Regions from separate parts of the Homo sapiens genome. Here all the other regions are linked to region 1. Evidence: promoter capture Hi-C in human tissues and cell types (Jung and others, 2019). All regions are on one chromosome and are shown on one strand. The core of a region is centred on a gene start or on the middle of the fragment in contact, and the rest is flanking DNA. Distances in the headings are between cores, read along the strand shown.

Region 1 (4,692 bases), core at 1,148-3,647:
GGCCTTCCTCCTGTATCATTGCATGGTGGAAGAGCTAAGAGAAGGGGAGAAAGAGAGAGAGGGAAGGAAAGGAAAAGGGAAAGAGGCAAGAAGGAGCCAAACTCGTCCTTTTATAAGGAAACTGTCCTTTTGATAGGGACTGCACATTTGTGATAGCACCATTAATTAATTCATGAGGTCAGAGCTCTCATAACTGAATCACCTCTTATTAGGGCCCACCTCCACACTGTTGCATTGGGGATTAAGTTTCCATCACACCGTTTTTGGGGGGATACATTCAAACCACAGCATTGTTACACACAAAATATTTCATATTATATGAAATATGTCACTTAACATTTTTACCTGAATGTCAACAACATAGAGTAATGTAGCAGTTTAGAAGTTATTAAATAATATCTTGAGGATATATAATTCCGACACACATGCATATTAAAGCTGACTCATACAACACAATTGTCACGGCGCAAATTTAAAAAATGAGTTAGGAAATCCCAGCGATGGGTTTTGTGTGCCAATTTATCTCAATTGCTCAAATTTCTCTAATTATTCATCCCAATTGTAAGCCTTCTAAAAAGGAATGCCTATGAGGAAACTTGAAATTTTCTTCTCAATGTTCTTCAGTACAACAGTTAAAAATATTTAAAGAAATGCTGAGTAAGTAGGAAACCCTCAGAAGTAAGCTGAAAATGAACAGTCTCAGTGGGCAAATAGGTCTACCATATAAAAGCTCTATTTGATGATTATCTATTGTAAGATCATCTTTTTTTTTCTGTATGGAAGTAACAAATTTAACTCAGAGAAAAGTTGTATTGCCAAATTCTTGAAATTAAACCTTAGTATCTGGCAACATTTTTCCTCCCATGGTACTAGATTACTAGATTTTTATGTTAAATTTAATTTTCTTGAATTCAAATGTATGAGCTTGATTTCTAAAAAACAAACAAACAAACCAAAAAACCAAAACCCTCATATGGAGAAACATGAAGTTAGCATATAAACAAGAAAAGAAGAAACTTTGATCTATAAATGAAGAAAAATGGGTTTTGATAAGCTCTCTTTGACAGGTCACCCTCCTTGGGCTTCAGAGTTATAAAAAAATCGATACGTGAGATTAGAGATGTGACAGTATTTCTAAATTTCTGTTTCCAACCGTTTCATGACTTTTCATTTCCTCTAGAAAAGACATAGGATATTAATATAATAAGATTTGCAATTTGTTAAATATCAAATGAGTCAACAAATATGAAGCTTCAAGGAAAAGGTGACAACAGGTGGTACCAGACATCTGAGCTGCAGAACAAAGATGGTTGTAAAGTGCACAGAACTGTTACAAAGCCTTAAGAGCTACTATAATCCATGATTATTAAATAACACCACATACTATTTCAATTAGCATTTGCCAAGCTTGCTTTCCTTGTCATTGGATTAAAAATTATACCCGGATTTTCAAGTGTATTCTATTTGTGACAATATGCATTGATAATTTCTCTCCTCACACTGCTGCACTCTCACCTCCGTTCCCAGATTAGCTCCTGGAACTCGAGATATTTTTGTGGCTAGAGATTGCTTTCTTAATGTTAGATTTTCCTTACAATTCCATATATAGTCAAGCATTCCATGCATGGTAGTTAATTGTTTGCTTAATTTGGCAACTGGGATATTAGAATTATGTATCATTAGGCAGTGATATTTTTGTAAGGTTGTTTGCTAGATAGATCCTATTTCATTTATATTAAGTCTTGGGAAGATAAACTTTATTTTTCCAGAGCCTAGCAGTGACTGACACATATTCGAATGAATGAAGGTAGATAGAAAATGTCTATATTCATTTACGTAATGATTAGTTAAGGAGAAAAGTACTTCCCAGCATAAAGATTTCTGGCAACCCTTTGCTTATTTGACTTTTCCCTTCAGGCAAGTTCAAGGCTTGTGAAATTCCTAGAAAGGCGAGGGGAGAGAACGCGTGACACAGAAAGGGGCCGGAGTTCGGGACCCTACGCAGTTTTGGGACGTTATGGGCATGGAGGGAAATGTTTGCTTTGGAGGCTTTGGGTAAGCTAGGGATCCGACAAGCCCTGGGCGCAGGGAGGAACGCTGCCCTCCGGCCTCCAGTCGCGCTCCCCGAAGCCCAGCGCCAGCGTCGCGCAACCTGCCGCAGGGGCGGCTCCCGGGCCAGGCAGCCAGGCGCGCCCTCGCCCCACCCGGGAACGCCAGGCCCGCGCAGGGAGGGGCGGGGCTCCATGGCGGCCCCGCCCCGCCGCCCGGAGGGTCACAATGTAGGGTTAGGGCGGCCGGCGGGCGGGGCTCTGCGGGGGAGGAGCCGCCGGGCGGGGGCGGGGATGGCGCGTGGGGGAGGGGAGGGAGGAGGACTCGCGGAGGGAGGAGGACAACGCCATTCCGGGCGGCCGCTCCCTCCGTCCCCTCTCTCCCTTCCCCAAAGCAGCCCGCGGACCGGCAGCAAAGGAACGTGCGAACGCGTGACGCCGCCCGACTGGCTCGCGCTCTCCCGTGCCCCGGCGTCCTCCGCCCGCTCATGGCCCGGGCCGCCGCGGACGAGCGGCGCTGAGGCGGGCCGCGTGGAGACGTGAGGCGGCCGCCGTGGCCCTCACAGTCGGCGTTTCGCCGCCTGCCCGCGGTGCCCGCGCACGCCGGCCGCCATCGCCTTCGCGCCTGGCTGGCGGGGGCGCTGTCCTCCCAGGCCGTCCGCGCCGCTCCCTGGAGCTCGGCGGAGCGCGGCAGCCAGGGCCGGCGGAGGCGCGAGGAGCCGGGCGCCACCGCCGCCGCCGCCGCCGCCGCCGCGGGGGCCATGACCGTGGAGCAGAACGTGCTGCAGCAGAGCGCGGCGCAGAAGGTGAGGCGAGTCCGCCAGCCGGCGGGCCCCACTTCTCCTTCCGACGGGCTGTCCTCTCCCGCTGCGGCCGGGCGCCCCGGCCTCGCCGCCGCCGCCTTCCCGGGCTTCCTCCCCGGTCACCCCCGGCCCCTGCCCATCGCCTCGGGGGCGTCGCGCCCAGAGCCCAGCTGCGTGTGGGAAGCAGAGTGTAGTTTGCGGGCTTCAATCCACTTCCTTCTGCCGATTGTTTTCCCGTAGCAGACGGTGCCAGGTATTGAGAGCGACCCTCACATTCCTACAGTGCTCTGTGTGGCATCTTAATGAAACTTTATTCTCTCCCCTTAAATGAGAAAGAATAGCTAGTTGTCATCCTTTCTGAACCGATTTTGTCTTTCAAAGGTAGTAGTGTACCAGGCCTGCTATTTTGCAAAACGGTCTCCACCAAAATCGAATTACCTGCCTCGCGGGGCAGGCGTGTTGACCAGGTGGACTCTAGAAGTAGGTGGTTTGCTTGGTTTCTTTTCCTTTTAAGGTTTCCCTTTCTTCTTCTTCTTTTCTGTTTTTTTTTTTTTTTTTTTTTTTTTCAATATAGAAACTGTCCCTAAGAGAGGAAACCTTTCTGGCCATGTTATTCCAGGAATCTTTTGTCCCCTAAGTTTGACCTTGTTCTTTCGTTCACCCTTTACTCTTGCATCAGTCACACATTCAAATGGTCACTCACTAAAGAAAACAATTAAAAAACTGTTTGTGAAACTTTATATCTTTAAAGTGAATAGAGATCATTCTGCTATTTTAGATTTTGCTTTCAGAATCTTAAGTGCACTATCATGGCTTGCACCATGTTCTGAAGAGTAGTTGGCCATGATTTAACTTCTTTTTTTAATTTTTAATTTGCGTGAAAAGCATTTTGGGCAAAAGAGTAAACCGTGCCTTAGTTGTGTTGGTATTACGGGGACAGTTAGGGTTTACTGTGATCAACCACCAGAGTTATGTTTGGTTTATCTGGGTGAGTAATGAATGCCCCACCCTGTTGTAGATTTGGTGTAGATTGCAATATTCTACCTGTGCTTGACTTTAGAATAAGACCTGTTCTAAAATGGGCTGTCTACATACAGCCTGCTAAATTTTTGCTTTGAGATTATTTTTAGAATTTTATGATACTGCTTTAAAGTAATCGAAGATACTCAAGTTTGGAAAGCAAGGATAGTGCATTGTTATTTTAGGCACGTTGGGAAAGTTGTTTTTGAGACTTGTATGTTAGTTGATATTATTGGTAAAGTTAGAAGGATATTGCACACTGCACTTTATTTACAGTGAAATAATTCAAGATTTAATAATGAGAATTTAAAAGAGTTTCCTTCCTAATCCTCCCTATTCTATTTTGAATACCTTCAAGTTCAATTTTTAAAGACTTAAGGCTTAGGAAAGAGCACATGGTCATGTGAACGCTAAGCAATATTTAATATGTATGGTACCATTTGTTTATAATTGTCTTCAGTGTTGAATATTAAAGTCTGTTTCAAAGTGAGAAATACCAATTTTTCACTTCCTAAGTTTGAACAATGGGAAGAACTTTGTAAGTTTAGGATTTTTTTATTTTCATTTGATTTTGACTAAACTGTATTAAATAACTATGCAGGCTCTATTGTATGGTTCAGAGGTTATGCATAAAATTGTAGAATCAAGAATCAAGTTAACGAAAGTGATCTTGGCTGTCGAGTCCAATTTCCTACTTTAATGAATCCCCTCCACACACAAAGGGAGTAGTAGTTAATTCAAAATATTATCATTATGATGCTACTTTTAGTATGGCTGTGTTTTAGATCATTTCATTGTTATTGGGGATTTTTTTTAGAGAA
Region 2 (4,692 bases), core at 1,316-3,815, 490 kb after region 1:
ACATACTTACAATTAATATAAAATATTTCCAGATTAAGAATTATAAGCACACATTAAAATAAGAATAAAGAAACTTTTTCAGGTGTCTTGAAGACCCTGAAGGATTTAGTGAGTCATCAGTGAGACATATTAATAAGGATGAGTATATGTATGAGTACCTGTTGGGTTTGTTTTCCTATCGTTTTTTCACTCTAAGTAGTAGCATGTATTTTCTTTTTTCTTTTTGAAATGGAGGTTTGCTCTTGTTGCCCAGGCTGGAGTGCAATGGCATGATCTCAGCTCACCGCAACCTCCGCCTCCCACGTTCAAGTGACTCTCTTACCTCAGCTTCCCAAGTAGCTGGGATTACGGCCATGCGGCATTACGCCGAGCTGATTTTGTATTTTTTTTAGTAGAGACAGGTTTTCTCCATGTTGGCCAGGCTGGTCTCAAACTTCCGACCTCAGGTGATCCACCTGCCTCGGTCTCCCAAAGTGCTGGAATTACAGGCTGAGCCACCGCACCTGGCAGGTAGGATGTATTCTCTAGTTCTTTTACAAAAGGAGGATTTTCATTTACCTGCACTTTTTGTTCCCCAAAGAGGGAGTCCTGGAGTCTCTTGGTGTGTATAGAAAGGCTTAAATATTTTAGCCAGTCCTTTGTAACTTTTTCCTTGCTTGTCAAAAGCAATAATATTGCCATCATTGAGAAATGGTTTCAATGATGGCGACACTTCACAGATAAGAACAAGCTTATTAATCTTGGGAAACTCACAAATGATTATTGAGTCTCCTAGATTGCTAAAAACAAAGAAGAATTAATTTTTTGTCCTGAAGATTTAAGGTAATTGTCCACAGCTTAATAATCATCAGGAAGAGGATAAACTCAATCACAGGAAATACAACGTAGTAGTGAAATTTGTTCAATTACAGAGGAAAGTTCCATCGGAAATGGTGGAAATCCTGGCACTTGGAATAAGCAAAACCAAACAGGACAAAGTACTAAACTACAATTAGTAAGGTTCTAATACAGCTCTAAAAAGGAATGCTTCCTATATTGATGATAATTAGTTGATGATAGATTACTGAGCTGAAAACTTGACATTTGATTGCTACTTTTAAGTGTTAGGCAAATTAAGAGGTATGGAAAATTGGACATATCATAGTGTAAATGAATTTATTTTCTCCATGGCAGGATTTGGTTGCTTGTGAACATATAGCAGATTCTCTAATACTCATAAGGCTCCCTCTTTCCTTTAATACGAAGGATGTAGGAGAAGTTCAGCAAGCACTTATTTGTTAGGTTGAATTCTAAATATGGACACAGTGCAGTCTTAAATTATGTTAGAAAAAGGACATTTGGCTTAGTGAGACACATTAATCATAGTGCAGTCTTAAATAGATCTGAGGACTTACAACAGTGCATAGATATGTCTTTAAATCAGCAGAAATTCAGAAGAACATGGCAGGTTAGAAATGATAGGATGATAACTTGGATTTGATTATGGCAAGATTAACTAAGCAGCTGTTGAGATTGGATAATGATATGTGAGGTTCTCATCACCCTGTAACTTGTTTCCACTAATACAGATTAAGAATGTCTGGAGGAACTATAATTATCTCTGTGGCTCGTGCATAACATAATTATGTTTTGCCAGTGCAAAGCATTTTATTAAGTGGAAAATGATTTTTAAAAAGTTATACAAGTGGCTACAAGAACAAATCAACTAAGAACAGAAACATTGGCACTTCATAATAGTAATGTGAAAAATACTTATCTCTTTTTGTTATATGGAGTTTTCAGAATTTAAAGCCTTGTTTATATGACAGATACATGAGGGATTATTTCAGTGATGTTGACCCTCTTACTGAAGTTTGTGCCCCAGGTGTCCAGACCACAAAATAGAAAATGCAATCTTTGTCTGCCTTACATAAATACAGTACTGAGATCAGCTTGTCTTTTAAATGTCTGATTGCTATTTAATTACAAAAAATTTGTCTTTAAACAGAGCACCCAAAACAACAAAAAAACAGTAAAGAACTCATTTCGGAGCCTTGTAATCCACCCTACCACATAAAAAGAGGGTGATATGTCTGACAACTCTCTGTATAATCAGGTTTATTAAGTGATAGTCATTATGCATTTTATAAACACTACCCTAAAATATGTAATGTGAATGTATCTGTTAATCAGAAAAAGCTAACTAAAACTGAATGCAATGTACTCATTTCCATTCTGGTGGCATTCTTACATAATGATTTTAAAGCAACTGTGATGAGATAGAAAGAGTGTTAAAGCTGTAGTGAACAAATGGGAATTCAAATTCCAGCTCTGAAGTGTTCCGGCTGGCTGAGTTTCTTATACTTTCTGAGCCTCCGTTTATCCAGTAGTAAAATGCAGCTATGAATTTCTACCCCAGTGGGCTGCTGAGAGAATTAAATGAGATAATTTATGTGAACAATCTTCTTAGAATATGTTTATTTAATCTGACCTTGAAAAATAATTCACAAAAAATGTGTCAGAGTAAGTTTTCTCTCGTCTCAAAGGAGAGAATATGAAGTAGATTAAGTGACATTTTTGAAAAAAGTTCCACATTTGAAACTTTTATTTATAAAATTGTGAATTTATCTTTAGTTATAGAATAACTTTCCTCTTCCTTTGATCTTTTTAAGCGTAATATTTAGCCCTCTCTTTATTACTCTGAGAGAAGATGAATATTTTAAAACTATTTATATCACATGTCTAAAAGTATTTCTCATTTTTTTCTTAAGCTCTTTTTTGAATATTTATAATTTCTTTCCCTTTTATTCTCATATTTCACACCTAGTATTTCTGCTTTCATTTCATTAATCTTTTTTTAATAACTTGGCACCTGGGCCTGTTTTGCAGCTATGTGCAGCAATCTTAAGTACTATGTATAGTTTAGTTTTCAATCAGTTCCTTGCTGTTACTTTCTGCAAATAAAAACTAGCTTAGCTATGCATGTGATTAACATGGCCCAGGTATTCCTATTACTAGGTCTTTCTATTACTAGGTCTTTCTTTCCTTCTGTGTTATTTAATATAAGGCAAAATAGGACCCTGCCGCTTACCAAGCTTTCAGGATCCTCCATCTTCCATCTTCCACTAATCCCTTCCTATGTCTCTATGAAAAATATATCTCTAAGATGGTGGTTGACAAGAGTGTGAGAGTCAAATGGTAAGGAATATTGCTTGGAAATAAGGCTGAATTAATAATTCCAGAGAAACATTGTGAAATAACTTATAGGTACATAAATTCACTATATTTAGATCTGCCTCATACTTTTAAACCAGCAGCATGATAATTCATAGCATGGACTTATCATCATACCATATATTGAAACATTCCTCTATTGTTGGATGGTTATTTCATTTCCTCTGCTTCATTGTTTTGAACATCCCTATAATAATCACCACTGTATATGCCATTTTTTGCAGAAGTGGAATTCCTAGTTAAAAGTTGAATTTCAAAATTGTTCTTGACAGTTTATACTTCTAGCAACAAAGTCTCTAAGTCTTACTATTAAGAGAAAATGCAAGACTTAGAACAATACATTTTATAAATGACATGTATATTAAAAAAGATCTATTATGTGAATGTATCATATAACTTGAATGATATACACTAAACACTTAACCTCTGGGGAGGAAAATAAAATTAAGAAAAGGTGGGGAAGGAAAATTTACTTCAAATACATTTGTATTGTTCAGATTTTTTACAGGAAAGATGAGTTTATATACTGCTATGTGTGTATATATATATATAACATATATATATCTATATATATATATAGATATATATAGATAAATTTTTTTTTTTTTTTTTTTTTTTTTTTTTTTTTTTTTTTTTTTTTTTTTTTTGGAGACGGAGTCTCACTCTGTCGCCCAGACTGGAGTGCAGTGGCGCAATCTCGGCTCACTGCAAGCTCCTCCTCTCAGGTTCATGCCATTCTCCTGCCTCAGCCTCCCGAGTAGCCGGGACTACAGGCGCCCGCCACCACGCCTGGCTAATTTTTTTTTGTATTTTTAGTAGAGATGGGGTTTCACTGTGTTAGCCAGGGTGGTCTCGATCTCCAGACCTCATGATCCACCCGCCTTGGCCTCCCAAAGTGCTGGGATTACAGATGTGAGCCACCGTGCCCAGCCTACTGCTATGTATTTTTAAAATAAAATTAAAATAGAGACACAAAGGTATTACTATAGTGGTATCAAAGTAAACAGTGTGAAAGCATCCAACCTGAATTTCATAGCTGCAGTGTGATGGCATTTTTATTCAGCTATTTCTAGGCATATTTTAAGGTCTGAGACTCACCATATGCACTATCATGTAAATTTATTTTTATAGGTAAAAACTGTAAAGTAATAAAACAGTCTCAGTTTCCAGAGCAAATCATATCCATCTGTACTGCTGGGTAAATGTAGTTCTGATTCAACCACATGAATAAGATTACACGTGTTTTTGAAAATCACTATTTGCTGAAGATCATAAGCAATTCACATGCTTTGTCTATGGTTAATTTTGGTAATAAGATGCAAGACAGCTCACAGATCTTTAAGCTATATCTAGAAATAGTGCTGATTGAATTTAAGCTGATTATGCAGCTTATTTTGGTCGTTTGCCCTCTTCCTAAATTCTAAAGTTCAAAGTTTAACGTGAAATAGTTTTCTCAAGTTTAGCTCTAGCCAAAGTCCA
Region 3 (4,692 bases), core at 861-3,360, 460 kb after region 1:
GGATGTAATGTGTTACATGCCAGCCCTCCCTGCCCCGTCCTCCCCCAACTCCACCTCGCTGCAACTTTCTGTTTTTGGGTACTAATGCCAAAATAGGAAGAGATAGTGATATAAGGACACCGCACTATGTACCCTAAGAACCAGCACCTTCTATTGATACCTGATGTAATTATGGCAGTCCAAGTTTTGGTGGAACAGGCCATAAATATGACTGCAGTTAATCAAGAATTGTTAAAAATACCTTCTTAATTTTCAGATGGATAGGACTAATCTTTCTACAATGCAGACCACCTGTTTTTCTTAGCCCAACATCATTAGCTTTAGAAGAATGGTAAAGATATTACCGCTATTAATCTTAGTTTTTAGAATTGTTGAGAGATGTACTTTTCAGTTTAAGTATTTTAACAAAAAGTTAGCTGAGACCACCTTGTGATGGTGGACTGCTATCCAGATGTCATGGAAAACTAAAATTTTTATGGCAATATTTTTCAGGTCTTTGATTTTAGTTCAACTCTTCCTTCATCCCAAAATGACTATCTTCCAAGACATTCCAAATGATTGGACAAATGCATAGATGCATAATAGGATTAGAGTAGAAAATATCAACATGACATAATAAGTAGCAAGTATTTTCTTTTATTATGTGATGTTTTGAAATTATGTCTTTGTAACTTCATATATTATTATTATGTCATACCATTTTGAATGGCCTTTTATTTAATTAAAATATAATTTTAATTATTTTCATATTTATTCTAACTTAGCATCTCTAAATACACATCATAGGGTTTTAGTGGTAGAATTATCTAAGCTATTGAGATGTTTTTCAAGTTAGATGAACTTAGTGAAAAATGTTCTGCAATGTTTGATAAAATCACCACGGCATCTAGAGCAGTGGACAATATCCCCGTGAAATGATGGTGGAAACCGACCAACTTTTTTCAATAGCATCCTGGTAGTGATCTTTTCAGTCACTTTTAAAATGGGATTTTTTTCTGTAACCCGTATGTAATTCAGAATGTCTGTGGTTGTTTTAGTCAACTGGCCATTAAAAAAAAATACATTATGGACTGTGAACTCACCAAGGCCCTTTCAAGTGCTGATGTATGTTTTATGTTTTATGTAGGTTATTAGTGACCTTTTTTGCACTTTTATCAGAAAGTCCTTTGTTTTGTGCATGTAGCTCTGTCAGAATAGAGGCCAGATCTTCAGGTGTTTAATTGCAGACTTCTAATGCATAAGACCTGCTGGCCTTGTTGACTTTTAGAAGTTATTTGTTAGTCTCAAATGAAAGAAACAAGAAAAAAAAAAGCTTGCTCTTTTTATAACAGAGTAAGATGAAACATGCAATGATAGGGTGGTGCTGAGTTGTAGAAATTTCTAAAAACTAGGTATTCCTCAAACAGTAATTAGAATTTTTGATTTTCTACATATCTATTGGCTAAAGAGCCAAAAATGGTTTTCAATAATGCCTGTTTTCAATATATAAAACGTCCATAACAGAATCACTAAAAGACATCAAATTATTATTATTTAAAATTTATTGAGAGGCAATGTCAATCTGTTTTTTCAAACCTATCAGTGACTCTCTATTGTATATTGGAGAAAGTAGAAACTCTTAATTTCTGCCCTAACCCCCACCCATAACTGATTTTAACACTCCTATTACCACATTATTTGTTACTGCAGTTTTTAAAATTGACTCTATCCATCAGACAGTATTATTTGGCCGCTGTTTTTTTACACCTGTCTTATTTATTCTTGATTTTTTTTTTTTGGTTTGTCTGTTTTATTTATGTCACTGTCCACTTTGCAGACAATTTAGTTGGCCAGGTATCCATGAGGAATATTGCCATTCCTGCACTGTGCTGAGTCAGACATGCCTTGTGGCATCATCAAGTAACAAGGTTGAGAAAACGTGGGTGTGGCAAATCCATTTCTGAGTAACAGCCTTTTTGGAGGGAAGAGATTGGCTAATCCAATCAGTATCAAAGCCTGTGCTTCTTAATTGGGTTGTATTATTCAAAAGCATGGATTTAATTTGAAATAAAATTGCCTGATGTTTCTGTATCATTGATTTATTGATGGTGGCGGCTACTATTTTTTAGTGTTTTCAAGGAATATGAAAACTTACAGTATGAAATTTACACAAATCTGTAGTTTTAAAATATTACCTTTTCCTTTAGTGTTTCTCCTATTTTCCGTTAGTTTGAGTTCTCATTTTAAAAAAATGTTAAAGAGAAAAAACATTTGTCTGACATAGAGCTCAAAAGGAAATTCTCATTAAAACAACTATGAGAATGAGAGAAATCATGATACTAAGATAGTATGTAATCTTTAGAGTTTAAAATAGTTGTTCCTAGCCCCTAAAGTGATATTATTTTGACTTCCTTAAGCATAGAGAACTTTGTTTACAGTAGTTCTACTCTGCAGTTAGGTGTAATAAACCAGCATTCTTTACAAAACTCAAATGAGACCTTGGAACCTGAGCTATATGAGTAACACATATATGATCCTGTGATCTATATGATATATTATTTGTCATTTCTCTATTCCCAGCTTGAAATTTAATATAAAAAAAAGTTTCACTGCTTCATTCTAAATCCTGTTTGATCCAACATGGAAAACATTGTTTTAGATTTCTTAATGTAAAAAAAAAAAAAATATATTTGACTGGATTAGATAGTAGTTACTGCAAAAAGTTACTGCAAAAAAAAAAAAAAAAACTCGGAGTTTACCTTTAGTCACATCTTCAGTACATTTTCTATTAAAGTATTTCTAGATTTTAGTGTCTGCTTGGTTTTGGTTATCTAAGCTGTAATAAGTAGCCTTGGGACCCCTGAAGGCACGCCCCACACACTTATGCTGTGTGACCTAAGGTCACAAGTAATGGCTGCAAGCTAATTGATTGAGAAAGGGTTGTCTGGCGGGGCCTCTTTGCGTCCTCCCTTTACATTCCTAAGTTCTGTGAAAGAGGCACTAGTAGCTCAGGCTAGCAAGGAAGGAAAAAAGAGGAAGTTTCTCTCTGCGTTCTGATTACACTCTGAATTCCCTTGTAGTGAGCTTACTTCTCTCCACCCACTTCTTACCAAGAACTCCTTAACTTGAGGGTGAACAACTTAAAGCTTGATCCTACAGTTACCTGAAAAGTGATTTGAGTATTCATTGAACTGAAAGAACAAATCGCCTACTTCAGGCGGTGGCAAGCGTATGGAAATTATATTAGAACTTCAGCAAAGTGCACAGCTGCATAATAGAGAAGCCGGCACTCAGATTGACAGGCAAATAAGCCAGCTTGTGGAAGGGGCCTCTGGGTGGCAGCTCTGGGCTTTTGGGTGTTGGACAACCATAGGCAAAACTGAAATGGAACAGGGGCAGAAAATAGCACACTTTTACTCTACGCAACTGTTGCTTTTTCATGGTGAGTGCAGATTTAAGATATTATATTTAAAATATACTTTCTATGTTGTAAAACAAGTTAAGAAATCTGTTGTGCTTTGAGGGAAATTATAGCAAAAGCATTTCTTAGAAGTTCTTAGACGATGTGGTTTTGTTTCTGCTTGATTTCACACTAACCTTGGTGATGCAAACAGAAAAATACAATATTTGTATTGTCTCGTGTGTCCTTTTTCTGAAAATTGTCCTTTGGTTTAAATCATGCTTCTCTTCAACTTGAATCAGCATTGTTTTAGGCAAATCATGTGTGGGATAGATGATGAAGGAACAACGGTGTGACAGAATATATGTAAACATTTCATTTAGTTCGACTTTGTGTCACTTCTCCACGGCTTCATGTTTTGCCGCCTTATCTTAGGAATATATAGCGCAGTCTGCATGAAAAGAGCTTTGTGTGAGAATTCCTGGCCAGTTGAAGGGTCAGGGCCTGTGCGTTATCTGACTGCCAGCAAGATCACTGGTGTGTCCTCTTATTTTTAACTTAAAATAGGAAAAAAAAAAGTGCATCTTTACATATTAAAAAGTAAGTGTGTTTGATTTCAACAGTTCCCTTCTTGTAGTATGTGGATGTTATTCCTGGCAAAGAATTGTTTAAATTTCTTTTAGGAAGCGGCATGCAAACTTCTTTTGTTTCTTTTTGTCTTGTTTGCTCATATTTCATTGAAACTTTACACACTTTAAAAAAATTTGAAATGGTACCAAGTAGTTTTTATTTTGGTGCAAATATTTTGAAAGTTGCTAGGCTTATGTTTTCTGGAGAACAATGTCTCAGAGTGTAAATTTTGTTTAACTCCCCGTGTAGTCATACTTATAACTCTACTTTAAATGTGCTTCTTATTTTAAAAATATCAGAGCCTATAGAGACTATTCCTAGAAATGTTAATAGAAATGTTTTTCTTTGGCAAAAATTGCAGATTCAGTTTTACAATTTATTAAGTGCCAAGATATCATTGCTGTTGTTGACTTTGCTAAAAAAGCAATTTTATTAACAAGGTGACTGCATTAGATGTTACCAACTGAGACGAAGTGAAACATGTGCTTTCACCCTGTTGATCTGATGAAATATAGAGGTCTGTGTGGTTACTTCGTGCGTCACATTCATTTAAACTTTTTAAAGAGCAGCTGCGTAATACAAATTTTGTATACTCACTTAAAAAATAAAATTTACTAGAGTAGGCTCTTGTTTTTGGAGACTTATACATTCTGTTTGCTAAAGTAAACTAAGAAACTGAAAAA
Region 4 (4,692 bases), core at 1,049-3,548, 390 kb after region 1:
TGATGATTTCCTTTGGCTTTCTTTATGCTTTTGGATATTTAGATTTGAGGTTTCTTCTATATGTTGCCTTTCACCACTTGGCCACCTTCTTTTCAGCTTCATTATTTTATTAAAATTTCCTATTCGTTGCCTTCTTCTCTGGTATTTTCTTGTCCTCAAGGGGACCCTCAGTCTTTTTTTTTTTAACCCTTTCACAGACATTTTAGAATTTTTAAAGGGAAAGGAGGTAAAAAAAAAATGTTTACTACTCCAGGTTGAACCAGGAATACTGCATTGTTTTATAACTGAGCTGTGAATAATAGGCATGTGAAAAATTTGTGTTGGTAGGAACTGATATGTACTATATAGTCAATATATTCTGGGAACTCACATTCTTTGAAATATAAATAATTCTATGCCATACTTGGTATTTTTCACATGAAAAAAACTGAAATTCCAATAGATTAAATCATATCCTGGAGGTGCAAGAGCTTAATAAGTAACAATCTGTTTATACTTGATTTTGTCATGCTTCCTTATATCATAATACAGTGTTTAAAGGCTCAAGAATTTGTGCCTGGGTTTGAATTCCAGTTGTACAACGCAATAGCTGCACTTAATTTCACATTCTACTTAATTTGTCTGTGTCTAACTTTTGTTTGTCTCTGTGTGTAGAATATTGATAATATAACAGCAGTATCTACCTCATAGGATTATTGGAAGGATTAAATACATTAATATATGTAAAAGATTTTGAATAGTGCTTGACATACAGTAAGTTCTATAGATGTGTTAGTAATTTCTAATTGTATTACTTTGTGCTCCATCTATCCCAAGGAAGAAAAGATATTGCTTCTGCTTATAGATGGTCTTTTAAAGCTAGGAAATACGACATTAAAGGTGTGACGTCTACTTGCACTTTAAAAACTCTCGCCTTTCTAGAACTTTCTGTTACTAAAGCTTGAAAATGAAAGAACTGTTACTGAGTGAGCTAATGAAAGAAAAACATGCTGATTTCTTCTACTTTTAAAGGGGAAATGGATGATGTAAGTTCTGAAGATAGATCTCTACGATTTTTTTTACATCCTCTAGATTACTTTTAGTGGTTTTTCCATACTATTTTCATTCTACTCATTCTAATTTCAAAAGTCCTTCTAATTTGTATATTTGAATTAGTATCCCTAGAAAACATTTTCTCCATAACCAAATTGATGTAGAACCATAGTTTTCAAAATGTTATTGCATGGGTCATAAAAAGTAGTTGTGGGGACTTTAAAACTATCTTGAAACAATCTTCTTGTTTCATATAAAAGCCAATCTTCTTGGCTTTTATATTTCAGATTAAATCCAAACCACTCATAGCTTGAGTACCATCAGCTGTTGGCAAAACTTAGCTTCTTGGTTCTATGTAAAAGTGAATCATTTTGTAAACACTCTGACAACCAAGATATAAATCCTTTGGTTTACACAGGTGACCTCATGAATATTCTTTTCCACCCTTTGTGTGTGTTAGAGGGAGAAAATACCGCAGGCATTGAATATTGAAATTTTTTCTAATCATTGTAACTGGAAGGAGACGCTGACAGATCCATTCTCTGGACATGTGTTTTAAAGTTAAGGAGGAAAAGACATGAAAAAATACCGTATAGGCTTTGCTGAAACCAAAGCATTTGGAGCACAGTTTAATACGTTTGCCAAATTTTAAATACAGCTGGGTTCTCCCACAGTTTCTTTAATTGGAAGCAGATTTCTGTGCTAATTCTGTAACGTGAAGAGAGCTCTAACAGTATTTCTTTCCTAAAAGTAGGGCATATATTTGCAGTGACCACTTCTAACATCAACAACTCCTTAAAAATATCCGACTTAGCAATTTTCAATGCGACTTAGAAATTTTCAAGAGTTTTCAGTAGATTTATTACCTCATGTGGTTTTATATACTTAATAGTTAAGTGTATAAATAATTAAAATTATTTAATAACTGATAATTAAGTTCACTGGGTATTTTGTTTTTAGAAAAAAGTGGATCGTATCTAAAGAATTAAAAATATGGAAATGTTCATATTGTAAAGTAAAAGTCCACATTCTGCTTGAATGTGAAAGACAAAATGTTTGTTTCTTTCATAAGTTTAAAAAATTTACCAAGTTCTTAACATTTTAATATGATAAAATTTAGTGGAAAAGGCTAAATTGAAACAAAAATGTATTTATATTATATACTACATATATTCCATTCAAAACTACAATACTAGTTTCTGAGTCACCAAATGTGGAAATTAATGTCAATATGATGAAAATACAATTTTGGAAAATTTATCTGTTTTTAATACCTATATATTCACTTTAACACTCAATATATTACATTTTTAATAAGCACTAATGATATTAATAGTAATTTGAAAGAAACATATTACAAAGTTTTATAAAGAAAGCATTAAAATAGGTTTTTGGAAGATTAACCTTGAGGCATTATTTCAGTCTGCTTTCCAATTACATATTGGAAAGAGGGGTACAGCATCTACTTTTTAATGCTGCTCTTACTTTGGTAAGAATCTAGGTAGTGGGTAAAAAATAAAATCATTTGAAATAGTTTTTTATTTATTGAACATTTTTTAGGCTGTACCTATAAAATATCTTTATAGCAATAAATACTTTTATAGCAATAATCTACACCAGATGTGTTCATCATGACTTTTTAAACTTTCTACCCTTTCAAAATTACATATCTGGTTTTTGTTGACAGTACTATTATAACTTAGAGAATTTACCTGATTTTAATAGCACAGCAAAAGAGCTGTTTTAGGAGAATGAGCATAATTGAAATATAGGCATTTGCTAAGGAGAGTCTATAAAGACCATTTTCATTAAGACACAAAAAGATTCCCCAAATATTAGTGTAAGCTCTAAAAATTGTGCCAGCAGTGTACCCTGAGAAGGCAGTTATTTCCTTATTATTATGCAGGCACCTAAATAAAAGGTCGATGTATGTATCAGTTTTTTCCACAAGATCTTTATTGCTTTCTCTTGGTCTTTGTACTGTTCCCTTTGCTAATACTGCGGTATCTTAATATTAATCTATTTTATTGTAAGCTTTGATATCAGTTGAGCTAGCCCTCCCATTTTTATTTGCATGCAAGCGTACTTAGCTATTCATGGCTCTTTCAATTTCATTTCCATTTTAGAATCAGCTGTATAGTCAAAAATTCTGTTGTGATGTTGGTTGGTATTGCACTGAGTCTGTAGATCAATTTGTGAAGGACTGACATATCTATATTGCCATTCATGAACATGATATATATCTCCACTTGCATCATTAATTTCTCTCCATAAACTTTTAGAATTGGTGCATATCTTTTCTTTGATTTTTTCCTTGTTGCCTAATTTTTGTACACTATGATAAGTTGTACCTTATATTTTGTTACTGATGTTTAAAAATAAAATTGATTATGGTATACTGGTTTTATAAAAAATGGCCTTGCTAAACTCTTATTAATTCCATCAATTTGTAGATTATTTCTATTTTCTATTTCAAAAAGCTACATCATCTGCAAATATTGACAGCTATCAATACTGACATGTTGAATAAAAATGGTGGCATGAATATCTTTGTCTTGTGCTTAATGTCTTACCATTGCAGATTTAGCATTAAGTAATTGCAGAAAATTCCTTTTGTAGCTACCCTTTGTTATATGGAAGAATGTGCCCATTTGTTTCTAGTTTGTTGAGTTTTTAAAAAATCATAAATGGATGTCGAATTTCAGTAATAGCTCTTCCCTTTAAAATGTTTACGTGGCAAATTTTATTGATTGATTTTTCAACATAAGCCAAATGTATTGGTGAATGTAGTAACTCATTGCTTTTTTTAACTAGAATTTTCCCCATTATGAGTGAGGTTGAGTATCTTTCTTTTAGTGTGCTTATTGGCTATTTGGATATCCAGTTTGTAAAATGCCTGTTCAAGTCCCCTCTCCCTTTTTACAAAATCAGGTTGCCTGACCTTCTCGTATTGATTTATAGATGCTCATTATATATTCCTGATATAAGCCCTTGTTAGTTATTCGAGTTACAAATATCTTCTCCCTCACAGCAGGCTTGACTTTTCACTTTGTTAAGGATGCCTTCTGGAAAATGTTACTTAATTTTAATGTGATGAAGTTGCTCAATTTTTAAATTAATGGTTTTTCTGGTAATGTTTAAGAAGTTTTTTCTTTCTTTCTTTCTTTTTTTTTTTTAGACGAGTCTCACTCTGTCGCCCCCAGGCTGGAGTGCAGTGGCCTGATCCTGGCTCACTGCAACCCTCTGCCTCCCAGGTTCAGGTGATTCTCCTGCCTCAGCCTCCAAAGTAGCTGGGATTACAGGCGCCCGCTACCACTCCTGGCTAATTTTTGTATTTTTTGTAGAGGCGAGTTTTCACCATCTGGCCAGGCTGATCTTGAACTCCTGACCTCAAGTGATCCACCTGCCTCGGCCTCCCAAAATGCTGGGATTACAGGCGTGAGCCACCTCGCCCGGCTGAGGTCTTTTCTTACTCTGAGGTCCTATTGATTCTCTTCTATATCTTTTAGAACATTTACTGTTCTTCCTTTTAAATTTACATATATAATCAGTCTGGAATTCATCTATATGGTATGAAATGGAAATATTTAATTTCATACATATGTATATTATATATGTATATAAATTATAAATATACATATATATGTAAATTATATATAA
Region 5 (4,692 bases), core at 1,603-4,102, 350 kb after region 1:
AAAATATATTTTAAACTGTTTTTCACTACCTTTTATGAGAAGAGAATGAAATAATTAGAAAATATATATATCTTTACTTTTATATCTGGAAAAATAGAAATTTCAGAGCTTGAAATCAGCTTAAGTCTTTATTTTGTAAAAGTATTAGAGAGGAAAAGTATCTCGCCCAAAATACGTACTTTCAAGTTCCCGGGACAGCTAAGACTGGTGTCAAGAATTCGGAAAGACTGGGTCAATATTTTTTTACCCTACCAAATAATCTTCATGTTAAAAACCAGCAAGATAGGATTATACAATTTTATAGTACTAACATAAATTACATTTACTTATGTAATCCAATACTGTATGTAGAATTCACATATCATAGGGAAAAATGGGAGACTGGACCTTATTGAGCTGTATTTTTCCACTATCCTACAATAATGCAATTGGGTCCTAATAAATAATCATTTATATTAGTATTCTTTAAAAATAATTATGGTTATGATGAAGTAAAAATGGAAATGATATCTGGGTTCACTTTGCTAGCTCTGAATTCAGTTAACACAGATATTATATCTTAATGACAAGATTGGTTAAATAGATTTGGGTGGGTCAGTTTGAACTTTTTTTAACCAATGAATTATACTGTTATTCTTAATCTTTTTTATTCTGCTTAAGTCTCCAGTTATCCCAAAGATGAGATATTTGCATCTAGCCAATTATTTAAAAATATAATTCTGGACCTTGTAAATACTGAGAGATGAATTGTGCCCACTTAGAAACGAATGTTTCTCAAAGACAATAAAAATAGTAGGACTGTCCAGCATCTTCTGTTTAGAAAATTACAGTTAAGAGTTCAGAGAGTGACTGAGAAAATGTAAAGCATCTTAAAGAAAATGTTACTTTACTTCCTAATTTAAGACGTGGTAACTGACAGCCGTGTGCATTTGAATACTATTTTGTTTTTCTAAATTTATTAAAGTAATGATAAACAAGATAGAAATAATGTAACACCCCCCCATACTGGTACTTATTGATACCATAATTGTACGGTCCTTATTCCAAAATTAATTATTGAATTAGGAAAGTGGAGTAAATATTAGGGCATAGGCTTACACAGCAAAACTAGTAAGTTTGTGATTGAGAATTGCTTATTTGTAAGATGGCAAAGAAATAGATAAAACTGACCTAAAACATTTGCATATTCTGGCTTTTTTTCCTGCTTAACCCTTACGACATGATTTAAAAGCAGTATCAATATATTTCGGTGTTTACCGAGTATTTCCACGAACTGAAGATAACACATCTTGTTATTGATCAGTGAGGTTGCTCTGTAACTGGTTGCTGAACCAAGAGGAGGAACAAAAGGCTTTGAGTTAATGGCTAATATTTGCTGGGGCCTAATATTTCCACTATATGCCATATGCTACACTATGTGCTATGCACACATTCTTTCATTTAATTCTCAAATCAATCCTTTGGTATAATTACTATCCTTATTTTACAAAACTGAGAAAATTGAGTTTCAAAAAGGCTAAGCCACTCCTCAAAGTCACATGACTAACAAGCAGCAAAAGAGGGATTTGAACGAAGGATTCTGACTTGAGAGAATGCATTCCTAATCATTCCAAACTGAATAATCAGTACATGTGATTTTGCTGTTTGCTGTAGAAACAGATTTTTTATATATATTACATTCATTAATGGTGTATCTGGTTCAGTTTTTTAAATGTTCACATATATTTTTACCTTAGCATTTTATAGGTCAGTTTGAAAGCTATTGAGTTCGCAATAATATCTACATTAATATTTTCTTCATATTTTGGTATTTCTGCACCCAATCAGATCATTTAGGTAATACATACCAAAACAATTTCTAAACAGTGACATACCAGACAAATGTAAGGTCATGTTAGTAGTAAAATGTCTTTGTAAGTCTGAATTACTAAAAATAAGTATTAGACTAAATGTTTCCATTTCCTCTTTTTCCTAGATATTTTACTTATTAAATATAACACCTATTTTATGACAAAATTAATTCTCATTAATTTGGCAGTTGCAGAATGTCACTTTGGCTTATTTAGACCCTGACTATCCAGACATGTAAGGTAGTTCAGGTTCTCACTCCTGTTTACACATCTTGTGTCTACAACCCACTGCAATCCACAGGATGTTAAAAGAATCTTACAATTACTGAATATGTAGTAATATATTTTATGCCTAATGCTAGATTTTTTAGTTTTTATCTACAGTGGTCAAGACTAGAGGGCATAGCTGACAAGTTGTTGACTTTCAGGGAATCAGCTTAATTTGGGGAAGGGAAAGGAGAAAACAGAATTGTGTAGTTTCTTAGCTTCCTGATGAAATGTTGTCCAGTTTCTTTCTCAATTTTCTATTTCTTTCTAGAACAATGTTGTACACTTACCATATGTCAGAAACTGTGCAGGCAATAAAATGATCCTCTCATGAACTCCAACTTCAACATTGTTATTGATTTTCATAATGAAAACACTATATCAATATATGTTCATGTATAATTGAGGTGTTTAGTTTGGTTACATAATTTATGGTACCCTCTTTTAAAAAAATCTAGAAAAGCAGAAGTTTTGACCCCTATGATTCTCATTTGAATGAAACTCCACTCCACTGTGCTCTCCACTGTGCCTTTGCCTCTTCTATGATCCTGATACCTAGAACTCAATACACTGCTCCTTGGAAGGTTTGAGGAATGCAGGGTGAAGGAGGACTATCATCTCTGTGTTTGGGGGCCACTAGGCCCATGGATGTGGTGCAAAGACCTCAATAGCAGGTTTAAGGATCATATTCTGATTTTGCCCATGCCTTACGCTATTCTCGGTACAGTTAGAATTTGATATTATTTTTTCTCGCAAGATTCCTTGATGTTCGCATTACTAATAATTACCTTTGTGGGAAAGAATCAAGGTCAACATAGCAGTTCCTTTCATTGCTTCTGAACTTACTGAGAAAGCACTTAAAGTATAGGACTTAAGCACTAGTAAAGTACTTAAAACATTTATTTTCAGAATGTTAATTTTTACACAGTGAAAACTAGAGATAATAGTGTCAATGACTACTTAGTGATCACTTAACTCCATGAGGTACTGTGAGAAGTGGTTAGGAGCATAAAATCTCTGTACAGATGCCTGGTTCTGATTCTGAACTTCATGACTTAGTAGATACATAACCTTGGACAAGTTACATAACTTCCCCGGGCCCCAGTTTTCTCATCTGTGCAATAGTACATACCTTAAAAGACTGTGAGGATTCTAGTGCATTTTTGCAAAGGATGGCATTATAAAGATGTGCAAATTCATGTTCTTTACTCTTCGAAGTATGGAATGTAGAGAGTATGTGTTTGTATATATTTAAATAAATATTAATGCAGTGTAGTTAAGTGCTATACCAGAGATGTATTTATGCTTCATAAATACTTTTAAAGTTTAATTTTACTTCACCTCTTTAACCAAGTTTTGTTTTTATTTGAACAAGTTGTCAACCATTGTTATAATCATCAGTTTTATCCCATCAAATATTGGTTTCATTTAAAAAGTTGTTTAAAAAGACTCTATGTTATTTTAATAATATCTATATAAGTTTACAATTTCAGGCAACTAATAATATTCAATCCATTGATTCTACTTTTTCCTCCATTGCTCAGTGTATATATCAGAAAATACAAATGTCCGAAGTCACATGTAAAAATACATGAAACCATTTATTCTGATTTTTGCAAAGCTCGATGGTAGAGCTAATATTTTAGACCATGATACCCTAGAATGACCAGAGGTTAGGTTCCTAGTTAGTGGCATTCTGTAAAGACAATTAATCCATAGTCCAAGTGTCTAATGTTCAAGAATCAGATACTTGATCACGTAGACTGTCCTTTAACAATCTCCATTGTACTCAGGAAGAAAATAATAGATTCTAATCCGAAGACCTGACCTAAAACCCTTTGTAAGTGCTCCAAGCCTCACTTTTCTTATTATGAAATGGGGATAGTAATGCCTAACTGGAAAGATAATTGTGTGGGCTAAATAAGAGGACCTGTGGAGTACTGTTAGGTTTTCTCTTCTGTAAGTTTTGCAAAGTCTGTTCAAGTGTGTGTTTCAATGTCAATGAGAGCAACAGGACTTCAAATAAAATGCAAGCTTCTGAGGAGGCAAACTCTAGTATGATGTATTCTATAGAATAGAGAATGACAAGATTCTTTAAAAATATTTCTCATTAAAACCCCCATTAGTTCAAATGATTTCAGGGGATTGTGAATGCAAGTTAATTAAATCAGAATTCTTTCTCATCTTATCCTGGGAATGACTGAAACTAAAAATGGTTTCATTTTAAAAAGAGGTTCATGAGCTCGCTCCCTCTCTCCACCTCCATCTCTATCTCTGTCTTTCCCTGCCTCTGAGAGAAACTGACGTATTTGGGTAGAGAAGAGCATCAGTAAGTGTTTCCAGTGATTGAGGCAGAGGGATGTTCAAAGGCATGAGTATTTTTAGATTAATAGTAACGATGCAACTAATTTTCAGGTGTCTCATTAAGGTGAAAAATAATATACTATAAATAGCATCATATTTGGACACCTATGTGCCAATTTTATGATGCTTTTACAATTTCATCTAATCTATTACAATTTGTTATTACTCCCTTCAAGTTTTATCCATGCTTTCATGGTACTAATAATGAAGA

Evidence for each region. Contacts are between HindIII fragments. The study calls those that stand out against the background at their distance.
Region 2: a contact is called between a fragment that was not itself captured here and the fragment with the promoter of USP25 in region 1, in 2 of the 25 tissues and cell types used here (dorsolateral prefrontal cortex and lymphoblastoid cells).
Region 3: a contact is called between a fragment that was not itself captured here and the fragment with the promoter of USP25 in region 1, in 2 of the 25 tissues and cell types used here (dorsolateral prefrontal cortex and hippocampus).
Region 4: a fragment that was not itself captured here is called in contact with the fragment with the promoter of USP25 in region 1 in 2 of the 25 tissues and cell types used here (IMR-90 fibroblasts and dorsolateral prefrontal cortex).
Region 5: a fragment that was not itself captured here is called in contact with the fragment with the promoter of USP25 in region 1 in 1 of the 25 tissues and cell types used here (dorsolateral prefrontal cortex).

What each region holds. Positions count from the first base shown.
Region 1 is chr21:15,727,585-15,732,276 of GRCh38, forward strand. It overlaps USP25 (ubiquitin specific peptidase 25), which reads left to right and starts at 2,398. Exons shown (of 26, transcript NM_001283041.3): 1 at 2,398-2,854. The coding sequence starts at 2,810. RefSeq lists a silencer at 2,003-2,962. The HindIII fragment of the contact is 10,815 bases long and covers 1-4,692 here.
Region 2 is chr21:16,214,469-16,219,160 of GRCh38, forward strand. All of the region lies in intron 3 of MIR99AHG (mir-99a-let-7c cluster host gene), which reads left to right. Among named protein-coding and RNA genes, the nearest start is that of SNORD74B, 68 kb to the right of the region's middle. The HindIII fragment of the contact is 5,714 bases long and covers 1-4,692 here.
Region 3 is chr21:16,191,213-16,195,904 of GRCh38, forward strand. The region is part of intron 3 of MIR99AHG (mir-99a-let-7c cluster host gene); the gene reads left to right. Among named protein-coding and RNA genes, the nearest start is that of SNORD74B, 91 kb to the right of the region's middle. RefSeq lists an enhancer at 2,624-3,384. The HindIII fragment of the contact is 3,642 bases long and covers 290-3,931 here.
Region 4 is chr21:16,116,552-16,121,243 of GRCh38, forward strand. The region is part of intron 2 of MIR99AHG (mir-99a-let-7c cluster host gene); the gene reads left to right. It also overlaps the pseudogene RPS26P5. Among named protein-coding and RNA genes, the nearest start is that of MIR99AHG, 48 kb to the left of the region's middle. The HindIII fragment of the contact is 6,190 bases long and covers 1-4,692 here.
Region 5 is chr21:16,074,531-16,079,222 of GRCh38, forward strand. All of the region lies in intron 2 of MIR99AHG (mir-99a-let-7c cluster host gene), which reads left to right. Among named protein-coding and RNA genes, the nearest start is that of MIR99AHG, 6.4 kb to the left of the region's middle. The HindIII fragment of the contact is 3,413 bases long and covers 1,147-4,559 here.